Linked DNA regions of Homo sapiens: regions 2, 3, 4, 5 and 6 are each linked to region 1. Evidence: promoter capture Hi-C in 16 types of primary human blood cells and fetal thymus (Javierre and others, 2016). All regions are on one chromosome and are shown on one strand. Each heading gives the region's core, a stretch centred on a gene start or on the middle of the fragment in contact. The rest is flanking DNA. Distances are from core to core; before and after follow the strand shown.

The links. The method cuts DNA at HindIII sites, captures the fragments that hold promoters and counts their contacts. A CHiCAGO score of 5 or more calls a contact.
Region 2: a fragment that was not itself captured here is called in contact with the fragment with the promoter of LAMP3 in region 1 in 4 of 17 cell types (activated CD4 T cells, naive CD4 T cells, erythroblasts and 1 more); the score reaches 7.1 in activated CD4 T cells.
Region 3: a fragment that was not itself captured here is called in contact with the fragment with the promoter of LAMP3 in region 1 in 2 of 17 cell types (activated CD4 T cells and naive CD4 T cells); the score reaches 5.3 in activated CD4 T cells.
Region 4: a fragment that was not itself captured here is called in contact with the fragment with the promoter of LAMP3 in region 1 in 3 of 17 cell types (erythroblasts, activated CD4 T cells and M1 macrophages); the score reaches 7.7 in erythroblasts.
Region 5: a fragment that was not itself captured here is called in contact with the fragment with the promoter of LAMP3 in region 1 in 1 of 17 cell types (erythroblasts); the score reaches 5.9 in erythroblasts.
Region 6: a contact is called between a fragment that was not itself captured here and the fragment with the promoter of LAMP3 in region 1, in 1 of 17 cell types (neutrophils). The highest score is 5.4, in neutrophils.

The regions. Positions count from the first base shown.
Region 1 is chr3:183,160,896-183,165,600 of GRCh38, forward strand. It overlaps LAMP3 (lysosomal associated membrane protein 3), which reads right to left and starts at 1,839. Exons shown (of 6, transcript NM_014398.4): 1 at 1,712-1,839. The coding sequence starts at 1,760. RefSeq lists an enhancer at 1,018-1,227 and a silencer at 1,840-2,049. The HindIII fragment of the contact is 7,998 bases long and covers 1-3,973 here.
Region 2 is chr3:183,787,814-183,792,518 of GRCh38, forward strand. YEATS2 (YEATS domain containing 2) reads left to right here. Exons shown (of 31, transcript NM_018023.5): 21 at 2,984-3,167. Among named protein-coding and RNA genes, the nearest start is that of YEATS2-AS1, 20 kb to the right of the region's middle. The HindIII fragment of the contact is 202 bases long and covers 2,179-2,380 here.
Region 3 is chr3:183,771,298-183,776,002 of GRCh38, forward strand. It overlaps YEATS2 (YEATS domain containing 2), which reads left to right. Exons shown (of 31, transcript NM_018023.5): 16 at 1,008-1,266; 17 at 2,336-2,497; 18 at 4,618-4,705. Among named protein-coding and RNA genes, the nearest start is that of YEATS2-AS1, 37 kb to the right of the region's middle. The HindIII fragment of the contact is 2,373 bases long and covers 817-3,189 here.
Region 4 is chr3:183,751,972-183,756,676 of GRCh38, forward strand. It overlaps YEATS2 (YEATS domain containing 2), which reads left to right. Exons shown (of 31, transcript NM_018023.5): 10 at 102-282; 11 at 2,155-2,394; 12 at 4,557-4,705. Among named protein-coding and RNA genes, the nearest start is that of YEATS2-AS1, 56 kb to the right of the region's middle. The HindIII fragment of the contact is 4,831 bases long and covers 224-4,705 here.
Region 5 is chr3:183,707,406-183,712,110 of GRCh38, forward strand. The region is part of intron 1 of YEATS2 (YEATS domain containing 2); the gene reads left to right. Among named protein-coding and RNA genes, the nearest start is that of YEATS2, 12 kb to the left of the region's middle. The HindIII fragment of the contact is 1,269 bases long and covers 1,871-3,139 here.
Region 6 is chr3:183,680,329-183,685,033 of GRCh38, forward strand. It overlaps KLHL24 (kelch like family member 24), which reads left to right. Exons shown (of 8, transcript NM_017644.3): 8 at 1-4,191. Among named protein-coding and RNA genes, the nearest start is that of YEATS2, 15 kb to the right of the region's middle. The HindIII fragment of the contact is 3,164 bases long and covers 324-3,487 here.

The sequences.
Region 1 (4,705 bases), core at 589-3,088:
GGCATGCAGAGAGTGCCAGGAAGCCATGTCCATCATTGTTAATTACCATGTGCTGATGAGCCCTGTACTGAGTGAAGAAGGGGCTCAAGGTCAGGTTGTGAGGTGAATGGGAGAGGGACTGGAGGGACAAACAGGAGATACGAGTTAACATCACTGAGCAAAATCACTGCAGTAATTGCTGTCCAGGTGCTACCTCATTTGTTTCCCCAGTACTCCTAGCAGAGGATATTATTCTCCCCATTTTTCAGTGAGGGAACTGAGCACCCGAAAGGTTGGGTGATGTGAACAAGGCCTCCCTGCTGGGAAGGGTCAGGGCAAGGGTTTGAATCCAGTTCCGTGCCACCCCTCAAAGGCCTCCACCTCTGAGGAAGAAACCTCTGATGCATCCTTCACCTAGCTCACCTCTGAGAATTTGTAGCTCAGAAAGGAACCGGTAATGTGGGCATTTTCTCTCCACTTGCCCTTGCATTTGTCAATACTCACTGTATTTTTATTTTTATTTATTTATTTTTTTTGAGACAGAGTCTCACTGTTACCTAGGTTGGAGTGCAGTGGCATGATCTTGGCTTACTGCAACCTCCGCCTCTTGGGTTCAAGTGATTCTCCTGCCTCAGTCTCCCGAGTACCTGGGATTACAGGCGCCCACAACCATGCCCGGCTAATTTCTGTATTTTTAGTAGAGGCGGGGTTTCACCGGTGGCCAGGCTAGTCTCGAACTCCTGACCTCAAGTGATCCGCCGGCCTCAGCCTCCCAAAGTGCTGGGATTGCAGGTGTGAGCCACCACGCCTGGCCTGTCAATACCATTGTGTTTCTGAGCCTATCCATCCATTCAAGGAGCGCTCACATACAGGTCACTGTGGGTTACCGCTAGGCTGAGATTGTTTTGCTTTTTTAATAGCTTGCCCTGTGGAGCGTGATGATGACTTCCTCTTCTGTCCCCTAAAAGAACCTGAAACTGTAAGTGTGAAAGTGTGGCGCAGGGGAGAACTGCCTAGGCAAGGGCAGCTGGCACGACCCTTCTCACCTCTTCCCTAACATTCCTAGCATTCATGTTACAAGCAAGGGCCACCGCGCCCCCTGCTTGAGCATGTTAGCCGGGCGGTAGGGACGGAGACAGTTCTCTCATGACGTTCGAGTAACCAGGAAACTTCATCACAGGGACAACACCACAGCACCCGAGGACTCAATGTCTAGGGGGAAAAGCTCTGGAGAAAGCGGAGGGTCGGATCATAAAATAATCATAAACTCAGCGTCCCAGACGGCATCTGGGATGGGAAGTACAATGATCATTTAAAAAAAAAAAAGTCTTTGACACTCTTCCTACACCTTTCTGAAATGGCACAATCTGTCAGACCACATCTGATGCAAGGAAAAGCAAGACAGGAGCGCTTTTCCCGGATAACAAAGCCAAGACTCCCATTCCTAAACCCTAGCTCAGGTCTCCATCTCTTAAATCCGAGTGACCTCTACAAACTCTCCCTGAGAAGGTGTCCAGAACCCTTTTGGAAGCGAGGGACAGTGTCACTGTCTTTGGGGTTGACACCTGCTCTGAGTAACTCACGGAAAACAAGTTCCAGCTGGGAAGCCCTTGGACGCGCCACACCTCCCTACCCGCAGCCCGTCCTGTGGCGCCCGGGACTCCAGAGTGCGTTTAGATGAAAGGGGACCGACACGTCAGGGCCACCGCGGGAAGCGCTGAGGGCCACTCACCGGCCAGGGACGCGAAGAGCGCGGCCGCCGCGCTGAGCTGCCGGGGCATGGTGGGCGCTGGGCGAGGTTCTGCAGCGTGCGGCGAAGTCCGGGCAGGCCCCGAATCGGTGCCAGAGAAACCTACCTGTGCCGGAGAAACGAAACCACCTGCTTATGAGAAGCAGCCGAAAAGCCCGCCCAGGGCCGCTGGGCGGGGAGGGAAACTCCGCCGGCCCCCTCCTACCCCTACGGAGCAGGGAGGGGCGGGGACTCGGCGCAGCCGCCGGGGCCCGGGCCTCTGGGACCGTTTACCGCACGCGCGTGGTCCCGGCAGCGCCGGCCTCCTCCGCTCATACCCTGGGTCTCCTCCTTTCTTTTTCTTTTCTTTTTGAGACGAAGTCTCGCTCTGTCGCCCAGGGTGGAGTGCAGTGGCGCGATCTCGGCTCACTACAACCTCTGCCTCCCGGGTTCAAGCGATTCTTCTGCCTCAGCCTCCCGAGTAGCTGGGATTACAGGCATGCACCACCACACCCGGCTAATTTTTGTATTTTTAGTAGAGACGGGGTGTCACCATATTGGCCAGGCTGGTCTCGAGCTCCTGACCTCGTGATTCGCCCGCCTCGACCTCCCAAAGTGCTGGGATTATAGACGTGAGCCACCGAGCCCGGCCAGGGTCTCCTCTTTTATTTCTTTTCTTTTTATTTCTTTTGTTTTGTTTTGTTTTGTTTTGTTTTTTGAGACAAAGTCTCGCTCTGTCGCCAGGCTGGAGTGCAGTGGCGGGATCTCGGCTCACTGCCCTGGTTCAAGCGATTCTCCTGCCGCAGCCTCCCGAGTAGCTGGGGTTACAGGCGCCCGCCACCACGCCCAGCTAATTTTTGTATTTTAGTAGAGACGGGGTTTCACCCTGTTGGCCAGGCTGGTCTCGATCTCCTGACCTTGTGATCCGCCCGCCTCGGCCTCCCAAAGTGTTGGGATTACAGGCGTGAGCCACTGCGCCCGGCCCAGGGTCTCCTCTTTTCTAACAGCTCGGGTACCTTTCTGGGAACCCAGAGACGCTTCTCAGCCGGGAGAAAGCCAGCCACTAGGCGAGCAGGAGCCTAAAAACCCCTAAGCACCCTGACTCCATGTCTTCCCAGGGAGTCTGCGGCAGCCGCGCTCCACGCCCAGGCCTCGCCAGGACCGCGGTTTGCGGGAAGCAACAGGAGCACAGCCCAGAGGCGCTAGGTCTGGCTGGGAGCTCGCGCTGCCGACTCCCCGGCGTGCGGCGTCGGGGAACCTCTAGGAGCCTTGGATTCTTCAGCTGTAAAACGGACATAATAATGCCCACTCCCAGTGTGTTTTTTTATTTTCTTTTTTCTTTTTCTTTCTTTGTTTTTGTTTGTTTGTTTTTGTTTTTGTTTTTGAGACAGGGTCTCACTCTGTCGCCCAGGCTGGAGGGCAATGGCGTGATCTCGGCTCACTGCAAACTTGGGTTCAGGCGATTCTCCTGCCTCAGCCTCCACAGTAGCTGGGATTACAGATGTGCGCCACCACGTCCGGCTAATTTTTTGTATTTTTAGTAGAGACCAGGTTTCACCGTGTTGGCCAAGCTGGTCTCAAACTCCTGACCCCAGGTGATCCGCCCGCCTCGGCCTTCCAAAGATCTGGGATTACAAGCGTGAGCCACTGTGCCTGGCCCCAGGTGGTTTTACAGACCAGAAAATCCTGGAACAAAAAACACACAATATCGTTTTTTTTTTTTTTTTGGAGTCAGGGTCTCGCTCTATCACCCAGGCTGGAGTGCAGTGGCGTGATCTCGGCTCACTGCAACTTCGACCTCCTGGCCTCAAGTGAGTCTCCCACCTTAGCCTCCTGAGTAGCTGGGACCAAAGGCGCGTGCCACCACGCCCAGCTATTTTATTTTATTTTATGTAGAGAGGAGGTCTCGCTGTGTTGCCCAGGCTGGTCTCGAGTTCCTGGCCTCAAATGATCCTCCTGCGTTAGCCAACCATTGGGATTACAGGCGTAAGCCACGGCCCACGGCTCAACAACGCTGACAGGCAACCTTTTAATGTCTTATCTCCTTCCTCTATTAATTGGATTGTCTGTCAAAACAACGATGTTTTGACAGGGCTTGAGTCCCAGTGGGGAATACACATTTAAGCAGTATATTAGGAGACCCTCCTTATCACTAGATTGAGGGCTTTCAGCCTAGCCTCAAATTATTTTCTGAAAAATAACTTTGGCTACAACTATTTTGTCTTACTATGTTGCTCCAAACACTAATCAAGTAAACTTAACCAAAGCTTGCAGTGTGTTTCAGAATGGAATTTTTATGGTGAAAAGTGAGGGTTAACTTGTGCCAGTCAACCTAGTTTCAGCAACTACCTGCTTTCTGATCTTTGAGACAGTTTATTCAAAAGACGATAATTAAGTGGGTATAGACTGTGTGCCAGGCACTCTTCTTATTCCATTTAAGCGCCATAGCCACTCTATATGGACACTGTTGTTATTATCGCTGCCCCATTTCGCAGATGGAGAAACTAAGCACAAAGAAGGGAGTTGCCCAGAGTCACTTAGATAATAAATACCGAAACCTGACCATAAATCTTGTCTGCCTTGAGAGTCTAGGATTTTAAGCACATAGCCGGGCGCAGTGGCTCACGCCTGTAATCCCAGCACTTTAGGAGGCCGAGGCGGGCGGATCACGAGGTCAGGAGATGGAGACCATCCTGGCTAACACAGTGAAACCCAGTTCTATTAAAAATATAAAAAAATTAGCCAGGCGTGGTGGCAGGTGCATGTAGTCCCAGCTACTCGGGAGGCTGAGGCAGGAGAATGGTGTGAACCCAGGAGGTGGAGCTTGCAGTGAGCGGAGATCGCGCCACTGCACTCCAGCCCGGGCGACAGAAGGAGACTCCGTCTCAAAAAAAAAAAAATAAATAAAATAAAGCTGCTCCTCTTACCCTGGAAATTCCAAGGGATTTAGGAGCTCTGTTTCAGGAACCAGGGTCAAAGACCAAGTATTAAAACAAA
Region 2 (4,705 bases), core at 1,030-3,529, 630 kb after region 1:
GTGAAACCCCCGTCTCTACTAAAAATACAAAAAAAAAAAATTAGCGGGGCGTGGTGACGGGCGCCTGTAGTCCCAGCTACTCAGGAGGCTGAGGCAGGAGAATGGCATGAACCCAGGAGGCAGAGCTTGCAGTGAGCCGAGATTGCGCCACTCCACTCCAGCCTGGACAGTAGAGCGAGATTCCATCTCAAAAAATATATATAAATAAATTATTATGGGTACATAATCAATGTGGATATTCACAGGGTACATGTGATGTTTTGATGCAGGCATACAATGCGTAATAATCGCATCAGGGTAATTGGGGTATCTGTCACCCTAAGCATTTATCTTTTTTTTAAACCAATTGTATTCTTTGTGACTGTAAAATATATAAGAAATTATTGTGAATTTTGGTCACCCTGTTGTGCTATCAAATACTAGATCTTACTCATCCCTTCTAACTATATTTTTGTACCCATTAACCATCCCCACTCCCTCCCTCCCTGCTGTTGGCCTTCCCACCTTCTGGTAACCACCATTCTTCTCTCTGTCTTCATGGGTTCAGTTGTTTTAATTGTTAGCTCCCACATGAGTGAGAACGTGTGAAATGTGTCTTTCTGTGCCTGGCTTATTTCACTTAACATAATGTCCTCCAGTTCTATCCATGTTGCAAATGACAGGATTTCATTCTTTCTTATAACGGAATAATATTGTATTGTGTATATGTACCACATTTTCTTTATCGTTCACCTGGTGATGGACACTTAGGTTGATTCCAAATCTTGGCTATTGTGAATAGTGCCGTAATAAACATGGAAGTGCAGACGTCTCCTCATATACTCATTTCCTTTGTTTTGGGTATATACCTAGCAGTGGGATGTGGATCATATGGTAGTTCTATTTTCAGTTTTTTGAGGACCCTCTGTACTGTTCTCTATCGTGATTGTACTAACTTAGATTCCCACCAGCAGTGTACGAGGGTTCCCTCTTCACATCCTCGCCAGCCTTTTGGATGAGAGTCATTTTAACTGGGTGGGATGCTTTCTCATTGTAGTTTTGATTTGTGTTTCTCTCACAATTAATGATGTTGAGCATTTTTTTATATGCCCCTTGGGCCATTTATGTGTCTTCTTTTGAGAAATGTGTGTTGAGATCTTTTGCCCATTTTCAAATGAGATTGTTTGGCTTTTTTCTATAGAGTTGTTTGAGCTTCTATATTCTGATTATTAATCCCTTGTCAGATGTATATGTAGTTTGCCAGTATTTCCTCCCATTCTGTGGGCTGTCTCTTTGTTGATTGTTTTCTTTGCTGTGCAGAAGCTTTTTAACTTGATGTGATCCCATTTATACATTTTTGTTTTGGTTGCCTGTGCTTTTGAGGTACTACTCAGGAAATCTTTGCCCAAACCGATGTCCTGGAGAGTTTCCCTAATGTTTTCTTGTAGTAGTTTCGTAGTTTGATGTCTTAGATTTAACTCTTTAATCCATTTTGATTGCATGGTGAGAGCTAGGGGTCTAGTTTCATTCTTCTGCATAAAGATATCCAGTTTTCCCAGCACAAGTCTTTATTAAAGTCCCAACTTACCTATTTTTCTTTCATTGCTTTTTCTTTTGATGTCACATCTGAGAAACCATTGCCTAATCCAAAGCCACAAAATTCAAGCCTTTGTTTTCTTCTAAGTTTTATACATTTAGCTCTTATATTTAGGTTTCAGATTCATTCGAGTTAATTTTTTTTTTTTTTTTTTTTTTTTTTTTGAGACAGAGTCTCGCTCTGTCACCCAAGCTGGAGTGCAGTGGCGCGATCTCGGCTCACTGCAACCTCCACCTCCTGGATTCAAGTGATTCTCCTGCCTCAGCCTCCTGAGTAGCTGAGATTACAGGCACCCACCACCACGCCCAGCTAATTTTTTTTTTTTTGTATTAGTAGAGATGGGGTTTCACCATGTTAGCCAGGAGGGTCTTGCTCTCCTGACCTCGTGATCCACCCGCTTTGGCCTCCCAAAGTGCTGGGATTATAGGCATGAGCCACTGCACCTGGCCGCTCTAGTTAATTTTTGTACGTGGTGTGAGGTAGACACCAAACTTTATTCTTTTTTATGTAAATATCCAGTTGGCCTAGAAACATTTGTTGAAAAACCATCTCTCAATCGTCTTGGAAGCCCACAGACTTGAATGATGTGGCTTGACTTCTCAAGCTTCATCTCCTGCAGCTGCTGCTTCCCCGTGCCTCTTCACAGGTGACACCACTCTGCTTTGCAGCTTCTTGAACATACAATGTTCTTTCATGCCTCACCAACTTTCTACATACTCTCCTCTGCCAGGAAACACTGTCATCTCTCCCTTTCTCTGTCTTAAATCTGGAAGATTCCTCTAAAGTGCCTAATGTTTTACCTGAAGCTTTTTCCTGTACCCTCCTGTTTCTATTCCTAGGCAGAAGCAGTGCCTTTCTTCTTGGTTGTGTTGGTGACATTTGCCTGTGCTTGCCGTAGCATCATTATACTTAGGTGACTGTTTCCTTGGTCGCTTTTCTCTCAGAGCCTTAGCACTTAACCATTATGCCGGCCATGTAGTAGATGTTTGTTCAATGAAGTGACAGACTGTAGATGTTTGTTCAATGAAGTGAATCATTGTCATGTGTTCTTAATAAAGCTCATTTTTAGTCCATGTGTATATTCTGAGAATATGTCCTCCTAGTTTTTTGGTGATGAAGTTGCCTTTTATAAAGGGATATAATAGGTGGTGAATTTTAAAAATATGATGACCCCCATGATACTTCCTTGTTTTAAATTTTTTAAATTTTCTTGGTCCATGAAATGTAAAGGTATAGTAACCACTGAACTAGAGAAGTAATCTTTTTTAAATGGTATGGCATTTACTAAGTAGTCATTAACACCTAATAGATGATATTTAGTGTGTGTGCTGTGTGGCCGTCACCGCCGTCAGTCATCACTCTGCTTTCTTCCTGAACTGTGTTGTTTCGGACCCCATGGGTGAGCAGTCTGAAGGAATGGCTCCCGTGTCTTCATCTACGGTCAGTTCTGTAACGAAAACTTCTGGGCAGCAGCAAGTGTGTGTGAGCCAGGCCACCGTGGGAACCTGCAAGGCTGCCACCCCCACCGTCGTCAGCGCCACGTCCCTCGTGCCTACACCAAACCCCATCTCTGGGAAAGCCACAGTATCCGGTGAGTTGCATTGTGATATTATTTCTCTCTCTTTTCTCTCATTGGGCTGGAATATTTTTGTTTGTTTGTTTGAGATAGCGTCTCACTCTGTCGCCCAAGCTAGAGTGCAATATCACAATCTCGACTCACTGCAACCTCTGCCTTCCAGGCTCAAGCCATCCTCCCACCTCAGCCTCTTGATTATCAGGGACCACAGGCACATGTCACCACACCCAGCTAATTTTTTGTGTTTTTGGTAGAGATGGGGTTTCACCACGTTGCCCAGGCTGGTGTTGAACTCCTCAGGTCAAGCAGTCCACCCACCTCAGCCTCCCAAAGTGCTGGGATTACAGGCGTGAGCCACTGTGCCCAGCTATTTTTTTGGAGGGTCTTAAGCAATATTTTGTATGGTAAATTGTTAAAAGTAATTAACCCAGCAGCATTTTCTGAACAGTTGCTTTTTAGATGAATTATTTTTGTTTAAAATCTACGTATCAGATTTTGTCTGAGACTTTAAATTATCATTTGAAAGTTACTATTTGAATTTTTGAATGATATAATAAACCCTTAGCCACGCAGAACCCTACTGGGTATTTTAGCTTTTTTTATAACGTAATTTTGGGGAGAGCCAAGAGTTTGCTTTCCTTAAAGTACTAATTTCTTTTTTCCTATAATCAGTGTCGAATAGAATTCACTATAAAATGTATACCTTTCTTTGCTTTTATAAAGTATATAAAATATATCTTAGCCTTGTTGACTCCAAGTCATAATTTTTAACATTAGTTATTATCTTGGCTAGTGTTAGAGTGATAGGCTGGAGATCCAGTAAGAGCTATGGTGTCTTTGTGCCTGCACTAGAGGGCCTCAGAAAAGTGTACCTTTTGTTTCTGAGTAACAGAGAGCACACATCCTGAGACCACATTGCCTTAGTTGAAGTGATTTGCTTCAGTTTCTCAGCTGTAAATGAGATTGATAATAATACCTACTTCATAAGGTTGAGAGGTTTAAATGAGTTTGTAATATATCAGTGCTTAGAATACTGTCTGGTGTGTAGTGGCCATTATATAAACAATTGCCACTGCCATTATCATGTGTGATCATTTTTGTTGTTAGTCCATAATCCTTTATCTGCAATTCTAAAATCCCAAAAGCTGTGAAAACCGAAGATTTTATTTTTTTAAATTTTACTTTAAGTTCTAGGATACATGTGTAGAACGTCCAGGTTCGTTACCTAAGTATACATGTGCCATGGTGGTTTGCTGCACCTGTCAACCCATCATCTAGGTTTTAAGCCCCACATGCATTAGGTATTTGTCCTAATGCTCTCCCTTCCCTTGCCCCGCACCCCCCAACAGGCCACGGTGTGTGATGTTCCCCTCCCTGTGTCGATGTGTTCTCATTGTTCAGTTCCCACTTATGAGTGAGAACATGCGGTGTGTGGTTTTCTGTTCCTGTGTTCGTTTGCTGATGAGAATGATGGCTTCCAGCTTCATCCATGTCCCTGCAAAGGACATGAACTCATTCTTTTTTATGGCTGCAAGATTATATTGTATTGTACT
Region 3 (4,705 bases), core at 753-3,252, 610 kb after region 1:
CTGTTCATCTAGTTTCTGGTGAGAAGTTCTTTTTATGAAATAAGGTGCTGGGAGTGGGAAACACTGCTCCAGTTTGCCATTCATTCAGTGTTTAATTTAACATCCTACTGTTGACTTTGTTTTAAAAACACTCCTGAGTATTTTCTTAAAAGAATTCATTTTACTTTTGGAACTAGATACTTCTAATTTTCATTATTTGGGTACTGGGGTCTTTTTTTTTTTTAATAGTTAAATATTATTCTTGCCTTTTTTTTTTTTTTTTTTTTTTCTTTTCTTAGGGTCTTGCTCTGTCACCCAGGCTGGAGGGCAGTGGTGTGATCACGGCTCAGTGCAGCCTTGAACTCCTAGGCTCAAGGGATCCTCCCCTGCCTCAGCCTCCTGAATAGCTGGGACTACAGATGTGTGCCACTGTACTGGCTAATTTTTTTTTTTTTTTTTTTTTTTTTTTAGACAGAGTCTCACTCTGTCACCCAGGCTGGAGTGCAGTGGCATGATCTTGGCTCACTGCAACCTCCACATCCTAGGTTCAGGGGATTCTCCTACCTCAGCCTCCAGAGTAGCTGGGACTACAGGTGTGTGCCACCATGCCCAGCTAATTTTTGTATTTTTAGTAGAGATTGGATTTCACCATGTTGGCCAGGCTGGTCTCGAACTCCTGACCACAAATGCTCCTCCTGCCTTGGCCTCCCAAAGTGCTGGGATTACAGGCATGAGCCACCACGCCCGGCCAAACTTTTTTCTTTATACTTCTGAATTTCCCAAATTTTCTATTAAAGTAAATTATAAAAAGTAGCTGAGGCAAGACAACAATTGTTAAGCTTCTATTATTGTAATACCCAAGTGTAAGAAATACAGTTGCCGTTCACACCTGTGTAGGTAGCTTTCCTAGATGACTGAATTAGGCTGCATGTATTATGTGCAGGCCTTTGTTTTGCTCTCTGCCAAAACGGTGACTGCTGTTCTAAGAGCTCTCGAAGCACCGTTGGACTCTGCTCTGTTTTGAACAGGTTGTCGGGGTACCAGTTGGGTCTGCTTTACCTTCAACAGTGAAGCAGGCTGTGGCGATCAGTGGTGGCCAGATCCTGGTAGCCAAGGCCAGCTCTTCTGTCTCCAAAGCAGTTGGGCCAAAGCAAGTTGTAACCCAAGGAGTTGCCAAAGCAATTGTGAGTGGAGGTGGAGGAACCATTGTTGCTCAGCCAGTGCAGACCTTAACCAAGGCCCAGGTTACTGCCGCTGGTCCTCAGAAGAGTGGATCCCAGGGTTCAGGTAAAACGGATCATCACTGGGAGCCCTTTCAGCAGAAGCTCTGTCCAAAATTTCCTTTGCTAGTGATTTTATTTGCTATTTGATCTGGTCTAGGAAAGCCTAGTTAGGTTGATGCTGTAAGAAGTGTATTGAAATGTTTGTTCTTTTTTATGGGACATTTTACATAAAGGTCTGTGAGTATTTAGCTTTAAATTTACACACACACACACACACACCCACATACACACACACACACGAACAAATCATTTCTCAGTACTGTGGGGGATTGGTTCCAGGACCCCCTGCTGCAGATAGCAAAATCCACAGATGCTAATCCACAGTCCCCTGTGTAAAATGCTGTACTGTTTACGTATAACCTATGTACATCCTCTGATGTACTTTACTTTATATCATCTCTAGGTTATCTTAATACCTAATAACAATGTAAATAACAATGTAATAACAATGTATATGCTATGTAAATAGTTGTTACACTGTGTTGTTTAAGGAATAATGACAAGAAAAAAGTCTGTACATGTTCAGTACAGATGTACTCATCCTTTTGTCTGCCAAATATATGGATATTTTTTATCTGAGGTAGGTTACATCCATGGATGTGAAATCCACAGATACAGAGGGCCAATGGTACTTGCCAGTTAGGAGCACACATTTGCCCTAACTTTGACTTTAAACAAATGGGGGAAAATATGTAATCCTCCATAGACAGGGTGATTATTTCATTAATCGTCCAAACCACAGTACTTTGGAGAGTAAAAAGAGTCATTATTAATAATTATAGTGGGACAGGTGTAACCTAGAACTGTTCTGGGCAGAACCAGGACGTACGATCATCCTATTATATACAGATATAAAGAGCCTCTGGCAGGCTCTTCTGGTCTATAAATTATTTTTTAATTAGCAAGATATTTAAGAATATCAGTCTTTAAAGCATTGTGCATCTGGGAAACAAACTTTGAATTTATTGCTTGTTAGTGTTCTAAAATAAGAATTTATTGCCTTGTATTTTAATTTTAGAGTGTTGCCCTTAGTTTCAATTTATCTTACAATTTTTTCTCCTTTACCATTTTAGTAATGGCAACGTTGCAGCTACCAGCCACTAATTTGGCCAACTTGGCAAATTTGCCTCCTGGCACTAAACTCTACCTAACTACAAACAGCAAGAACCCTTCAGGAAAAGGAAAACTGCTGCTGATCCCTCAAGGAGCCATCCTGCGAGCTACGAACAATGCTAGTTAGTGAAACCATTGGGTTGAATCATTTGGTTCTTGGTTCTCTATGTGTGTTCATCTTGTCCATCTGAGGGCAGTTCTTACCTGTTTCAGGAAGCATTTCTGTAACTCTGTTGGGTGGTGTAATGGTAGCATTTGCTCAGATGGATTTAACACATACGATAATTTAACTAGAAGTGGGTTTGCTCCTCAGCGTTTGCAATCAGAGATGAATCACTCTGGAGAGAGATGGCTGGTGAGGCTGTTGGGAGAAAGCTGTCTACATGAACCATGAATGAAGTGGTGTCTGAAAATTATCTGGTGATACCTGAGGGAAGATCCATCTACTTATAGAAGCTGGAAGTCTGTTTTTGGGGATAGGTTGGCATAGGATTGGAATCGAGTGTGTCTGTTTGACTTCATTTAGATCAGGGGTCCCCAACCCCTGGGCCGCACAGCAGAAGTTGAGCATGGACGAAGAAGCATTACTGCCTGAGCTCCGCCTCCTGTCAGATCAGCAGTGGCATCAGATTCTCACAGGAGCGCGAACCCTGTTGAGAACTGTGCATGCGAGGGATCTAGGTTGTGTGCTCCTTATGAGAATCTAATGCCTGATGATCTGAGGTGGAACAATTTCTTCCCCAAACCACCCCCCGCCTCCTGTCCCAATTCATGGAAAAGTTGTCTTCCATGAAACTGGTCCCTGGTGCCACAAAGCTTGGGGACAGCTGGTTTGGATGTATTCCTTACTTCTGCTAGGTTTGGAGATGGAAAGAGAAATACAGACTCTACCTAGGTTTGTAAGTCTTAAAGCCCCATGGAAATGAGGCAGTTTATCTGCAGTTAAAGAAACTTTTGCTTTGACATATAGAGAAAAACCGTTTGGGCAGTGTTGAAAAGGATAGGATAAAAGGAAATTATTTCCCTCTGAATCAGAAGTAGAAGGGTACAGCATTCAGGGTCATTGGAAGTTAACCGCCCTTGCCAAAATGCAGTGTGTCAGCTCATCATCCTTGCGTTCATTGACCATGATGTGTCAGTTCCACTCTCACTTGGTGTTTTTTCCTCATACCTAAGCAGTGGTATGTCCAAAAGTTAAATGTGTAAGAAAAGGACAATGTAAATATTTCAGAAGTCATCCAGGGAGCTACTTAGATTCTTGTGATATCCTTGGTGCAAAAATAAACCATTGGGAAGGAAGCTATTCCAATAATCACTGGAATGAAGGTGGAGAAGGAAATTGGAAGTTAGTATTTGTTGAGTGAATATTCATAGTCCAGGTAGTTCAAATGCATTATCTCACCAAAAGAGAAGTAAAAAGACTTCAAGGCTTTGAAGTGGGATTTGAAAGGCAAAGAAGAATGGGGTCCTGGAGTCATTGTAAATGAAGGAAAGTCTTCATTTTTCCTGAGACAGGGAGACAACATCGAGCACTGTAAAGTTACACTAAATTCCAGCAATTCCCTGACATTGAATCAGATGCCCAAAAGTTGGGAAGCACCTAGCTGAGCACATTTAAGTGTTGATTAAAATACTTGGCTAGAGGCTGGGTGCAGTGGCTCACACCTGCAATCCCAGCACTTTGGAGGGCCAAGGCGGGCGGATCATGAGGTCAGGAGATCGAGACCATCCTGTCCAACATGGTGAAACCCCCTCTCTACTAAAAATACAAAATTAGCTGGGCATGGTGGCACACGCCTGTAGTCCCAGCTCCTTGGGAGGCTGAGGCAGGAGAATCGCTTGAACCCGGGAGGCAGAGGTTGCAGTGAGCCAAGATCTTGCCATTGCACTCCAGCCTGGCGACAGAGTGAGACTCCGTCTCAAAAAAATACTTGGCTAGAAAATGTCAGTAGCAAGCCTTCTCTTGATCTCCCACGACCACGTCAAAGTATCTTCATTGTACTCAGAGCCGAAATACAGTCAGTTGTCATGCAGTTGAAAGGAAATAGATTTTGATCTAAAATCTAGGAAGTTCTCCTCACTCTTGTCACAGGGTAGGTAGATTACAGAAAAGACGGAGGAAAATGGGAAAGAAGAAGGAATGGCACTAAAAGGGAAACATCTCTCTGGGCTCATTTGTTTTTTATGCTAAAGCTTTGCTTGATACTTTTTATGATGTTGCTGTCATTCATTGTATTTTTAGATCTCCAGTCTGGCTCAGCTGCCAGTGGTGGGAGTGGTGCCGGAGGAGGAGGAGGAGGAGGAGGAGGAGGCGGCAGTGGCAGCGGTGG
Region 4 (4,705 bases), core at 1,389-3,888, 590 kb after region 1:
GTTATCTCTCACATCCCGGAGATTACATTCTTGGACGGGACTTGAGCTTTCTGTGACATTGATGATGGACTCATGAGCCTGATTGTTGCCCAATTGTCTAGGTAGTGGATGTTGAACTCCATCGCCATTCTCTCGGAGAAGACTGTATCTATCCTCAGTCCTCGGAGTCTGACATCTCTGATGCCCCTCCATCTTTGCCTTTGACCATTCCAGCCCCAGTGAAAGCTTCTTCACCAATAAAGCAGTCACATGAGCCAGTACCCGATACCTCTGTGGAGAAAGGTAATACAGCAGTTTTCCTTGCATAGCGTTGTTCTGAGGCATTCCTTTCCCATTTGCTGCTTTCAGAGACCTATAGTATATGGAAAATAACTTTGCTATAAGTGGACATGCTGCCTCTACTACACAGTTCTGTTATGAAAGCCAAATTTCCACTCTTGTCAAAAATATTTTTCCGGCCGGGAGCTGTGGTTCACACCTGTAATCCCAGCACTTTGGGAGGCCAAGGCGGGTGGATCATGAGGTCAGGAGATTAAGACCATCCTGACTAACACGGTGAAACCCCGTCTCTACTAAAAATACAAAAATTTAGCTGGGTGTGATGGTGGGTGCCTGTAGTCCCAGCTACTCGGGAGGCTGAGGCAGGAGAATGGCTCGAACCCGGGAGGTGGAGCTTGCAGTGAGCTGAGATGGTACCACTGCACTCCAGCCTGGACAACAGAGCGAGACTCCATCTCAAAAAAAAAAAAAAAAATTTCCATGAAGTTTTACTGACATATTATAAAATGTAAAAATAGCTAAAAAACATAAGATTTTTAAATTTATTTTTATTTTATTTTATTTTGAGATGGAGTCTTGCTCTGTTGCCCAGGCTGGAGTGCAGTGGCATGATCTCGCCTCACTGCAACCTCCACCTCCTGGGTTCAAGCAATTCTCCTGCCTCAGCCTCCCTGTTAGCTAGGATTACAGGCGTCCACCACCGCTCTCGGCTAATTTTTGTATTTTTAGTAGAGATGGGTTTTCACCATGTTGGCCAGGCTGGTCTCGAACTCATGACCTCAGGTGATCCACCCACCTTGGCCTCCCAAAGTGCTGGGATTACAGGCATGACCCACCACGCCTGGCCTAAAACAGATTTTTATCACTTGATAATTCCTTATAATGTATTACAGGAAGACTTTATGGTTCAGCTTCTGATTGTGCGAGCAAGAAACTTGGATATTAAATACCTGGTTTTACTTAAGAAAAGATTCATCACCAACAATGTATTTTGACCATGCCATTTTTAAATTTAACAAATATATGTGTATAAATACATATTTTAATGTTCCCATATATAAGCATAAAAGATATAAAATTGATCTTAAATGTTTTATTTCTAAGCCTATATTTTAATGTGGTTAGTATTATAGTTCTTTTATAAAATCTCAACTTTATTCCTCTTTAGATTTCAATTGCATCTTTTTTATGGGCATTTAATAAGATACAAGAGGGGCCGGGCACGGTGGCTCATGCCTGTAATTCCCAGCCTTTTGGGAGGCTGAAACCATCGGATCACCTGAGGTCAGGAGTTCAAGACCAGCCTGGCCAACATGGCAAAACCCCGTCTCTACTAAAAATACAAAAATTAGCCAGGGATGGTGGTGCATACCTGTAATCCCAGCTATTCCGGAGGCTGAGGCACAAGAATTGCTTGAACCCGGGAGGTGGAGGTAGCAGTGAGCTGAGATCACACCACTGCACTCTAGCCTGGGTGACAAGTGAAATAATGTCTCAAAAATAAGTAAATAAATAAGATAGGAGGATATCATTAGATTTAGTGAATGCTTTCTAAGATTTTTTCTTCTCTAAACAGTTTTTCAGTTTATATATTAAAAAATGGAGGAACATAAGAACTTTTGTTCTTTTTATGTTATACATGGTTTATAGTTAATAATGTTTTCAAGTTTTTTTAAAAAAGCACTTTAAACATTATTCTAAGCATATATATTTTTCACCAAAAATATGAAGGGATGATTGATTGTATTTATTTTGCTACCAGTACATGGTTTAAAATGGTGTTGAAATAATGCATTTTTATTCTTTTTCCACAACGGTAAGGTTTTATTTCAAAGCGATTGATGACTTGCCGTTTGCCTCTTTCATCTCAAGCAGGATTCCCAGCTAGCACTGAAGCTGAACGACACACTCCGTTTTATGCTTTGCCATCTTCATTGGAAAGAACACCCACCAAAATGACTACATCCCAGAAAGTTACCTTTTGTTCCCATGGCAATTCAGCTTTCCAGCCAATAGCATCAAGCTGCAAAATTGTTCCACAAAGTCAGGTTCCTAATCCTGAGTCACCTGGAAAATCCTTCCAGCCCATCACCATGAGCTGCAAGATTGTGTCAGGTATGCAGATGTTTTGAAGACAGTGTATGTGGAGTTGACTGGATGTTAAAATTGTTGGAACAACAAAACAAAATACTTGGCTTTTTTTCTCTTAAGTTCTTCTAAGCAGTGTTATGTTTAACAAAAGGAAGTTTATCACTGTTGATTGGCAAAGCTGTCACAAGGCAAAAACAAAGCTCATTCATACGGAAATGAATGGAGGAGATAAATGAAACTCAAATGGTCAAATTTTTGTCTGCCAGAATCAGCACAGGTAAAATGTTTGCTAGGATATATGGCTGAAACTAAGGTGTAGGAATCGTGTTTGGGGATTATATACATGGAAACCACAGTGACTAGTGATAGAAAAAATTTAGAGGCCTTTGGCATGGAGTTAAATTTTAAGGGTTAGAGTTGGTTGGGAATTGAAATGCTTTATTCTGTCTGTAACCACACTAGAAAATTATTCATTCCTATTGTCAGTAGGTAGTTCTGAGTTGTCTTGTTCACTAAGATTGGATTATCTTTTGCCTTGTGATAGTTTCATTTTATGTTAGGTAAAATTTAGTAGGAATATATGGTTTTGACTGTTCCACCTTAGAACAAAACATGTTTGTTAAAAGGCAATTGGAAATAACCAGGAAGTATGAGGACTTCTGTATAATAGTTAAATGAAGGGGGGAAAAAAAGAATGTTTGGTGTTGTAAGTAGACAGCTAAGTAGAAATAGGATCCAAATCTTTGATGAGAGATAAATAGCTTCTAATTGGTAGGCAATTTTTTTTTTTTGAGATGGAGTTTCACTCTTGTCACCTACGCTGGAGTGCAATGGCGCGATCTCAGCTCACTGCAGCCTCCACCTCTCTCGGGTTCAAGTGATTCTCCTGGCTCAGCCTCCCAAGTAGCTGGGACTGCAGGCACGTGTCACCACTCCCAGCTAATTTTGTATTTTTAGTAGAGACGGAGTTTCACCATATTGGCCAGGCTGGTCTTGAACTCCTGACCTCAGGTGATCCACCTACCTTGGCCTCCCAAAGTGCTCCGGTTACAGGCGTGAGCCACCGTCCCCTGTCATTGGTAGGCAATTTTACCTACCAGGTAGAAAAATTTTGGAACTTGCTACTTCAGAGGTGGAATAGGCTGAACATATAAATTGATTTGAAGTTTAAAGAAATTCATGGATGACGTTTGATCAATAAAAGACAGTAGAGGATGTTTAACTGTCAGTAACTTTTGAGAGTATTTTGCGGGAACACGAATCTTTCTGGGTTACGGCTGTGACATAGTATTGACAGAGACTTTTATTCTGGGTAGGTGAATTTCATATTTTCCTATTCAAAACAAGACACCAGGTTCTTAAATCTAGCTGTTTACTTACTGATTTTCTTCCTTCCTTTCTTTTTTTTTTTTTTTTTTTTTTTTTTTTTGAGACAGAGTTTTGCTCTTGTTGCCCAGGCTGGAGTGCAATGGCACGATCTCGGCTCACTCCGCCACCCGGGTTCAAGCGATTCTCCTGCCTCAGCCTCTCGAGGAGCTGGGATTACAGGCATGCGCCACCACACCCAGCTAATTTTGTATTTTTAGTAGAGACAGGGTTTCTCCATGTTGGTCAGGCTGGTCTCGAACTCACAACCTCAGGTGATCCGCCTGCCTCGGCCTCCCAAAGTGCTGGGATTACAGGCACGAGCCACTGCACCTGGTGTCTCATGCCCGGTCTCTAATTTTAGTGTCTTCGAGTATAACCAGTACTATAAAAGCCTGCCTATGGTGTTAAAAGATTTATCATATCAAGATTCAGCAGTTACAAAAAAAGGTTCAGCAGTTTTGCACTGCTGTGTAAAGCACTGCTTTCTGAACTATAAGGTGCATACCAGGAGATCTTGTTGAAGTGAGATTTATGTTTAGTAGGTCAAGGATGGGACCATAAAATCTGTTTCTTACAATTTCCTCGATGATACTGATGCTGTTGATCCATGGATAAGGATGCAGAGCATGAAACATACATCCTCTGCCTCCTTTGTACCTCTGTTGCTGCTCAGTACCGGGAGCACGCAGTATCCATTTTATTTTCCCAATTTGTTACCTTTGTCCTGGTGGCACTGACCTTCTTCCTTGTCCTCGACATCTTCTTACGTGAGTTGAATATGTGTATTTTGTTTGTATTCTCTCTTTTTAATTAATAAGGTTCCCCAATATCAACTCCAAGCCCATCACCATTGCCTCGAACCCCGACTTCCACTCCAGTCCACGTGAAGCAAGGCACTGCCGGCTCTGTTATTAATAATCCTTATGTTATCATGGACAAGCAGCCGGGGCAGGTGATTGGAGCCACC
Region 5 (4,705 bases), core at 1,255-3,754, 550 kb after region 1:
GAGTATACCACGATTTGTTCGTCCATTCCTCTGGTTTGGACTTTTGAGACATTTTTGAAATGTCATTGGCTAATGGAAAATGGATTGTAGAGTCTTATTCAGATATTTAATAAAGGAACACTGGTTGTCTTGTTTACAAAAGAGAATGTATTTTCTTTTAAGACTGTAGAAAGGACAGGGCCAGGAACTATGAAATCATTATCAGCATCTTAGGAATGCCTGTCTGTATGGAAGCAGATAGAAAATGATTGTACTACTCCCCTTCCCCACCTATTTTTTTTTTTTTTTTTTTTTTTGAGACGAAGTCTCACTCTGTCACCCAGGCTGGAGTGCAGTGGCGCAATCTCGGATCACTGCAACCTCTGCCTCCCGGGTTCAAGCAATTCTCCTGCCCTGAGTAGCTGGGATAACAGTGCATGCCACCATGCCCAGCTAATTTTTTGTATTTTTGGTAGAGACGGGGTTTCACCGTGTTGATGAGGCCGGTCTCGAACTCCTGACCTCGTGATCCACCCGCCTTGGCCTCCCAAAGTGCTGAGATTATAGGCGTGAGCAGCCAGCATGCCCGGCGTCCCCCTCCCCAACTTTAAACCAGATGGGAAGTCTTGAGTGAGAGCCCCAAGTTCAGTGGTTCTGATATTCAAATGATGTGAGGCACATAGAATTATTGAGATGATACCTCATATGATATATGGCAAATCTTTCAAGTGTCTAATTTATCAGATTTTACTCCTTTCTCCTCAAGAATTGGCCACTTTTTTTTTTTTTTTTTTTTGATACGGAGTCTTGCTCTGTCACCAGGCTGGAGTGCAGTGGCACGATCTCGGCTCACTGCAACCTCTGCCTCCTGGGTTCAAGCAGTTCTCCTGACTCAGCCTCCCGAGTAGCTGGGACTACAGGCACTCGCCACCACATCCAGCTAATTTTTGTATTTTTAGTAGAGATGGGGTTTCACCATGTTGTTGGCCACATCTTATATGATGTGTTTGCAAAACACAATGGTAGAGTTCTAGGACTGGCTTCTGGGGTTCTCCATCTTCCCTGACTCGAGAGCTAAGACCTCGAATTTCCAGTGACTGTACATTACATCATCTTTATGGTTTTTATTATACAATTTTCTTTTCAAAATTATTTTTCTCTTGGGTTTTATTTTAAAGTATAAAACATTAAATGTTTTGTTTGGGGCCAGGGGTGGTGGCTTACAAATCTCAGCACTTTGGAAGGCCAAGGCCAGAGGATCTCTTGAGGCCAGGAGTTCAAGACCACTCTGGGCAACATAGTGAGACCCCCGTCTCTTTAAAAAATAAAAAGATTAGCAGGTATGGGCACACACCTGTAGTCCCATCTACTCGGAAGGCTGAGGCAGGAGGATCACTTGAGCCCAGGATTCCAAGGTTGCAGTGAGCTATGCTTGTGCCACTGTACTCCAGTCTGGATGGCAGAGTAAGACTCTGTCTCTAAAAAAATTTTTTTTGGCCAGGCGCGGTGGCTCACACTTGTAATCCCAGCATTTTGGGAGGCCGAGGTGGGCGGATCACAAGGTCAGAGATTCGAGACCAGCCTGGCCAACATAGTGAAATCCCGTCTCTTCTAAAAATAAAAAAATGAGCTGAGAGTGGTGGCACACACCAGTAATCCCAGCTACTCAGACAGTTGAGGCAGGAGAATAGCTTGAACCCAGGAGGCAGAGGTTGCAGTGAGCCAAGATCATGCCATTGCAGTCCAGCCTGGGCGACAAAAGTGAGACTCTGTCTCAAAAAAAAAAAGTTTGGTTTTCTTTTTGGTTTCTAACCTTTGTCAAAAACTCAGACTTGGTTATGTTATTTGAATGGATATGGTATGTTTTAATTGATGGCATTTACTTCTATAAAGCTTTGTTTTCTTGTGTTACTTATGGAAAAAATCATTTATTTTCTATATTTAAATTGAAAGCATTTACTCTTTTTTTGAGATAAAGTTTCTGTCACCCAGGCTGGTGTGCAGTGGCATGATCTCGGCTCACTGCAACCTCTGCCTCCTCACAGGTTCAGGAGATTCTCGTGCCTCAGCCTCCCGAGTAGCTGGGACTATAGGCATGCACTACCATGGCCGGCTAATTTTTGTGTTTTTAGTAGAGATGGGGTTTCACCATGTTGGCCAGGTGGGTTTCAAGCTCCTAACCTCAAGTGATCCACCTGCCTTGGCCTCCCAAAGTGCTGAGATTACAGGCCTGAGCCTCTGCATCTTGCCCACATTTACTTTTTATAATGAGGCTGTTTTAATGAGATAAATTTTTTTTTTTTTTTTTTTTGAGACAGAGTCTTGCTCTGTCACCCAGGCTGGAGTGCAGTGGCGTGATCTCGGCTCACTGCAAGCTCCACCTTCCGGGTTCACGCCATTCTCCTGCCTTAGCCTCCGGAGTAGCTAGGACTACAGGTGCCCGCCACCACGCCCGGCTAATTTTTTGTATTTTTTTTAGTAGAGACGGGGTTTCCCCATGTTAGCCAGGATGGTCTTCATCTCCTGACCTTGTGATCCGCCCACCTCGGCCTCCCAAAGTGCTGGGATTACAGGCGTGAGCCACCATGCCTGACCCGAGATAAAAAGTTTAAATTGGAGAAATGGATGACAGTAGTCTTATTTTAGTCGCAGCGTTACATTTATTTCCGTATTCAGTTTTTGTCTCAGAGTATAGAGAAAATTCTTTCTCACAGTCAAATTGTATATGATAACAGATTTTTTTCCTAGCAGTTCCTAGTACCATCTCAGTATTTTCAATTTCAGCTGATTCAGAAGCTATAGAGGATTAGCTGGACATTTTGTTTCCAAGTTGAATTGACCATATCTAACAACTGCTCATGTTTCCTTTTCATAAAATCTACAAGTCAGACAAGAAGAGTCCAGAAGGTAATGTTATCATTGGTCATTTGTTACACATTCTGTTCACTTATTTATTATATCATCATGAGAGCATGCCTCAGCAGATGTGCCTAGTCTTAGCTAGCTAGCAGTTACTTGCATGTGACATGTGCACATTACACATTATTATTCTTGTGAGACAGAAGCAGACCTGGATTATTTTTAAATGCCCAGTATAGAGCTTAATCCTCTTAAATGTGTTTATAAGAAGCTCAAATATATGCCCACATGCAACAAGAAAAGCTTTATTCTAAAGGCTGCATAAAAAATGAATTATCTTGGCAGCACAAATGAACTCATTGTTGGTTTCTTCCTTTCTGCCCACCCCCTCCCCAAATTCCTCTCTTTTCTCTTCCTAGTCTTCCAGTTTTACACCAAAAGTCAAAGAGAGGGTTTTTTTTTTAAGTCCCTTAAGTGAGGATAAAATAAAAATAACTTTTCTTCAAGGATCCCCAGCCATTTTAGTGGGAGCCACCGTTATTCTTGAGATTACTTGGAAGGTAGGATAAGAATATACAGATTATGAAGTCTGTAGAATGGATAAGTGAGGATGATGCTGGAGGGGGACTCATCTTTGTAGATAATCTCCTATGACTCTTGGCAAACTGTGGAAGACAGGTGCCTGATGAGGAAGTAGTATGGTACAAGGACAAGTTTAGGTATCTGCTGGGCTATATCCACCTCTGATTCTAGGTTCATGTGTAATTAGGTGTTTTTAGATTCCTATCTGCATTAAGGAAGAATAAATTAAGTTTATTTTTTTTTAAAGTTGTCTTTTTTATGTAACAGCCCAAGATTTTCTGAGGCTGTCTAAAATTAATTGCAGACCAAATGGAGAAGGCTGAAGAAACAAGACCTTACTTTTACTTTTTAAAAGCTTTAAACAGCTGGGCGCAGTGGCTCATGCCTGTAATCCCAGCACTTTGGGAGGCCAAGGCGGGCGGATCACGAGGTCAGGAGATTGAGACCATCCTGGCTAACACAGTAAAACCCCGTCTCCACAAAAATACAAAAAAAAAATCAGCCGGGCGTGGTGGAGGGCACCTGTAGTCCCAGCTACTCGGGAGGCTGAGGCAGGAGAATGGCGTGAACCCGGGAGGTGGAGCTTGCAGTGAGCTGAGATCGCGCCACTGCACTCCAGCCTGGGAGACAGCGAGACTCTGTCTCAAAAAAAAAAAAAAAAAAGCTTTAAACATAAAACATAATAGTTGGGTTCTGGGCCTGTCCAAAAATAGTCATTTATATTCTGAATTGTAGCAGGTAACGGATGAATATGAACAAACATTAAATGGCTTGATTCATGATGTTTATAAATTCTGGGGGTTTTAGAATATTTTTAAGATTAGTGATATAACAGCAGATAACAGCTGTAGGAAAAGTGTTCTCTCAGATGTGGGACTTCCATATGTAACATTACATAATGAGCCACTCTCCTAGCTGAGTCAAGTGAGTCTGTTTCTGAGATGAGTGAAAGAACTGGACTAAGAGCTGAGGGACTTTTAAATAGTGTGTTTTTTTTTTTTCTTTGTTTTTTGAGATGGAGTCTTGCTTTGTCACCCAGGCTGGAGTGCAATGGCATGATCTCGGCTCACTGCAGCCTCCATTTCCCGGGTTCAAGCGATTCTCCTGCCTCAGCCTCCTGAGTAGCTGGGATTACAGGCTCACATGACCACGTCTGGCTAATTTTTGTATTTTTAGTAGAGATGGATTTTCACCATGTTGGCTAGGCTGGTCTCGAACTCCTGACCTCATGATCCGCCTACCTTGCCCTCCCAAAGTGCTGGGATTACAGGCATGAGCCACTGCA
Region 6 (4,705 bases), core at 656-3,155, 520 kb after region 1:
TTCCTAGCCCAGTAGAGTTTGACCTCATTAGTATGGTGCTTTGGGTGAGGACCTCTTCCTTGATTATCCCACTTTCTAGTGAACAGCTAAAATTCCTGAGAGTCTCTACTGTTAAGGTACCTTTAATAGGATAAAGCAGGGACCACCTATCTCAGTGGGTCCATTTTTCTTTTAAAATTAGTTATCTGAAAAAACTTAGCAGTAGTTCCCATCTTTAAGGTAAGTCTTTCATTTGGTCCCCATTGTGTAAAATACTAATCAACATTTTCAAGCTTCTGTACAACAGACTGCTTTTGTCTAGATTTCTCAACTCCACTTTATAAAGCTTATCAGTTTTCAGAGAGGAATGTGAATTTTTTTTCTAATGCAAATAAATGGATATGGCAGGAACTACAGCATAAGTGATTATTGTGATTCTGGGTGGACGGATATAATTTACAACATTTAGGGATGTTCTAGGTAGCCTGCTGTAGTTTGACTTCCAGTCACTGTTGTCTTTCACATTATAATTTGTATATTTCTTGTGATAGAAGGGATGATGCAAATATGTAATTAAAGTGTCACCAGATTTCTGTTAAAACCAAGGTTGAAATAAAAAGCCTAACATTGGTAAGCTACATTGTTTTCTCATTTTAGAATGATTCAGAGATTTCAGATAGACATTTTTTAAACTTTAATGCTTAGCTAGAATCTACATTCTGAGGAAAACTCTAAAAAACTTAAAAATTTTTAGGGAATTTTTATTTTTCAAATCATAATTTTAAAATGATAGATACCATTTTGTGATAACAACAATTCAGAAAACAATTTTCTATCCTCTTAGTTGAAAGAATGTAGGTACAGTTTGGATACTTGTACTTTAATTTTAGAGTAAACATCTGCATTATACTCTTATAGATAATAGAATTATTTAGTTAAGAAATTCTTTACAGTAAATGAGATAATGTGTGAAAAAGTATTTTGTAAATGCTGAGGATTCTACAAATGATAGTTGTTATTTTCATGTGTATTTGTAAGATCATGTCCATTTCATGAATATAGGACTTCACATAAAAAAAGACTTTCTCAAGACAACTTTATATTCTAGTATTTTTCTGTTGTAAAAAGTATTAACTATTTACTTTTATTTTGTTATACATTTATTTTAATATCCATGTGTTTATTATAGTAAATTTGAAATGAAATCCTGAAAAACAGAATTTTTTTAAACACAGACCTCACACCAATATTAATTTTTTCTCTACATAATTTAAAACTACATAAATTAAGTACTTAAAATTTATATTGAAGGCCACCAAGAACTTAGGTTGAATCTTAGAAAATTTAAATAACTATTTTTAAAGTTACCCAACTTAATATTTTAATTTTTTAATATTTATCTTCCTTTACTAATTCTTGATAAATAATAGCATTAGACTTGATAAAATAAAAAAGAATTTTAGAGTAGAATTAATATATCAAAAGGGGTATATCAACCAAATTGGTGTCAGATTGTATTCATTCTCTCATCACATAAAGATTTTTCTTTTGATAGGTGATGCTCATATGAACCTTTGGTTTAGAATCTATATATGTACATGTGTATGTATGTAGATAGTATGGTTGTATACACACATATATACCAAACACCATGAATTTTAGCAGTCTGTGATGATCAGCAAAAAAGCACATAAAGTAAAAATTAGTTGACCATGCTAAATTCAATTCTGGAATTTTTTTTTATTTGGGCATTTCTAGAACTTTTTACATTTGAAAGTACATGATGAGTATTAGTAACGATGACTTATGTATAATCAGAATCTTTATGACAATTTAGTTTTACAAGGTCAGAAGAGATGAGTTTGCTAAACCCAGCTGTGATACCTCAGTTGGAAAGGGAATTCAAAGGTATGCTTTGTAGAACAGAAAAGTATAGTTTTTTTTTCATGAACTTTAATCATTTTCTGTTTTTCCTCTATGTGAGTCAGCTACAAAAGTGGTCTAATTTTTACAACAGTAGAACTTCCTCCTTTTCTACTGTAATCTTCCCACTGACTTTACTGCACAGGTATGAAATACTAGTGTATTGGATCTTCAGTAACCTTTTTATTTCCTAGATGATTGAAATATAGGTATTTACTCCATTTAAACCAGGTGATAAGATGATGTAAATACTCAGGGAGGGTATTAACTTGTTACTTTTGCTCGTTTGGGGTGTAAAGTGCCATGACTGAATAATCTTCAATTCATGATTCTAGAGTAAGTTTAATTTGGAAAAAGGGGCTTCACACATGGTGGTGGTTGAACATTGATTCTTTTATACTTAAAAAGATGAAAATGTTTTGTGGACTGATACATTTTATCTTACTGAATATGAATTGTTTATGTATCTCTACTGTCAAATAGCCTTTTTGAAACTCAGGAAAGACAAAGGTTCAATTACACCACTTTTGTCAATAAGCAAACCAGGTATTTTTTTTTTCTCCTGTTGTCTGGATATGGCAATAGATTTTTTAAATTGCTGTGAGAACCCATATATGAAAAGAGAGGAGTTGAATTGTGTGTGCCTTTTATGTCTTGAGATTTATATGTGGAAAAGACGACATCTACTTCAAACTGTATTTTTTTCGTTTTTTTTTTTTTTTGGGGAAGGGGGGAGAACGGGGTCTTGCTCTGTCGCCCAGGCTGGAGTGCAGTGGCGCGATCTCAGCTGACTGCAACCTCCACCTCCCGGGTTCAAGGGATTCTGCCTCAGCCTCCCGAGTAGCTGAGACCACAGGTGCGTGCCACCACACCCGGCTAATTTTTTTGTATTTTTAGTAGAGACGGGGTTTAGTAGAGACGGATCACTCCTGACCACGTGATCCGCCCACCTCGGCCTCCCAAAGTGCTGGGATTACAGGCGTGAGCCACCACCCCCGGCCTGTATTTTCAGAGAGGAGAGCTTGGTGTTTTTGTGGTGCCAAGTGGTAAGATAATGTCTCTTTGAGGCTTCCTATGGACTGCCTTTATTTTAGTAAACTCAAGACACCAGTTAACCTCAACAGAGTTTTGGCCTTATTAGAATTTGTTGTGCATCTTATTGAAAGCCAGGTTTACATCACCTCACCCCATTATTCTTTTTAGTTAAATAAATTTACCATGCCAAGTAACCAGAATGGAGCAAATTGGTTGATCTTTAAGGCAGTAGGTTTGACTAGCTAGCTATCATTATTGTCACATCTAATGCTAGGCACCAGAAACCATTTGAGCCAGGAGTGTGAATGAATAATTCCAGAGACACTTTAGACATTTTTTAATGTTTTATATGAACATTTTACATTTGTGTGATTGCCTTAGATATTAAATTTTCCTAGTGCTGATAAAAACAGCAACATTCATAACTTATTTTATATATTGTTCCAAAGAAAAGAATTTGTTTTAATGGTTTCAAAATAACTGCACCTGAATTTGTTTATGTGCCTTAAGTTCTCTAGTGCTATTTCAACTTTTTTTTCAATCTAAATGAAGCTTACCTTAGATAAGGTTCATATTTGTTTCCTATAGAGTAAATAAACTTCCCCTTCTTAAATTGTGTAATAAGCACCAACGTGTGGTTGCTTGGCAGAATGAGAATGTTAAGGGAGATTGTTGGATGTTTGGAGTTTCATTATATTTTTTGTTTTTATTTTTTGATACCTAGGTGCTTTTTAAAATATTCAGACAAATATCTATCTTACATTGATTAAACCCGTGTAAATTCATTTGCAGTATCTACATCGAATGTCAAAAAAGTATACTTATTTTTGTTCCATACTTATGTACAATTTTTTCCCTCTTCAGGCTTTTTCATTTACCTTTTTGAAAAAGCACTTACTCTCCCCTTCCCTATCACCCCTCCCCCAAGGTTTCTTTATTTAAATTTTTATTGAGAGTTGTTGGAGCTCTAAGACAATACAAATTTAGAGTTGAACAAAAGTATAATCTGCTTTACAACTAGTATAGACCTAAGGTCATTTGCTTTCAATTAGAGGCTCCAGAGTCTTCATAGTGGAAAGAATGCTTTGTATTTAATTGTTCTTAGTTAAGTTGTAGCACGTGAATACTTACTTACATGTTTTGTTTAAATATACTTCTTGCATAGTTTAATTTTTTAAAAGTTGTATCTAATAAAATGTCTTTTAACCATTATTACTTGACTATATGGTTGTATTAAATTTTGTTTACGAAAAATTTGTTGTTCTGTTTTATTTTAAGTATATTTAAGGGGTTGTGCAAAAAAGAGATGGGGAAAATACTGGATATATTAATATATGTGTGTATTTACTGGTATGTCCATAAAATAACTGGAAGGATAAATAAGAAACTGAAAATATTAGTGTGTAAGAGGAAAGGAAATGGTGGCTGAAGGACAAGTAAAAATGAAACTTTACTGCATACGTATATGTGTGTAATTATAAATACATATAAAATCAATTTTTTAGTCTGAAACACACGAAAGTATTCCCTATTCAAAAAAAAAAATTTTTTTTTTCTTTTTTTGAGACGGAGTCTCACTCTGTCACCCAGGCTGGAGAGCAGTGGTGCAGTCTTGGCTTACTGCAACCTCTGCCTCCTGGGTTCAAGCGATTCTCGTGCTTCAGCCTCCTGAGTACCTGGGACTACAGGTGCATGCCACCACGCCCGGCTAATTTTTCTTTTTATATTTTTAGTAGAGACAGGGTTTCACCGTGTTAGCCAGGATGGT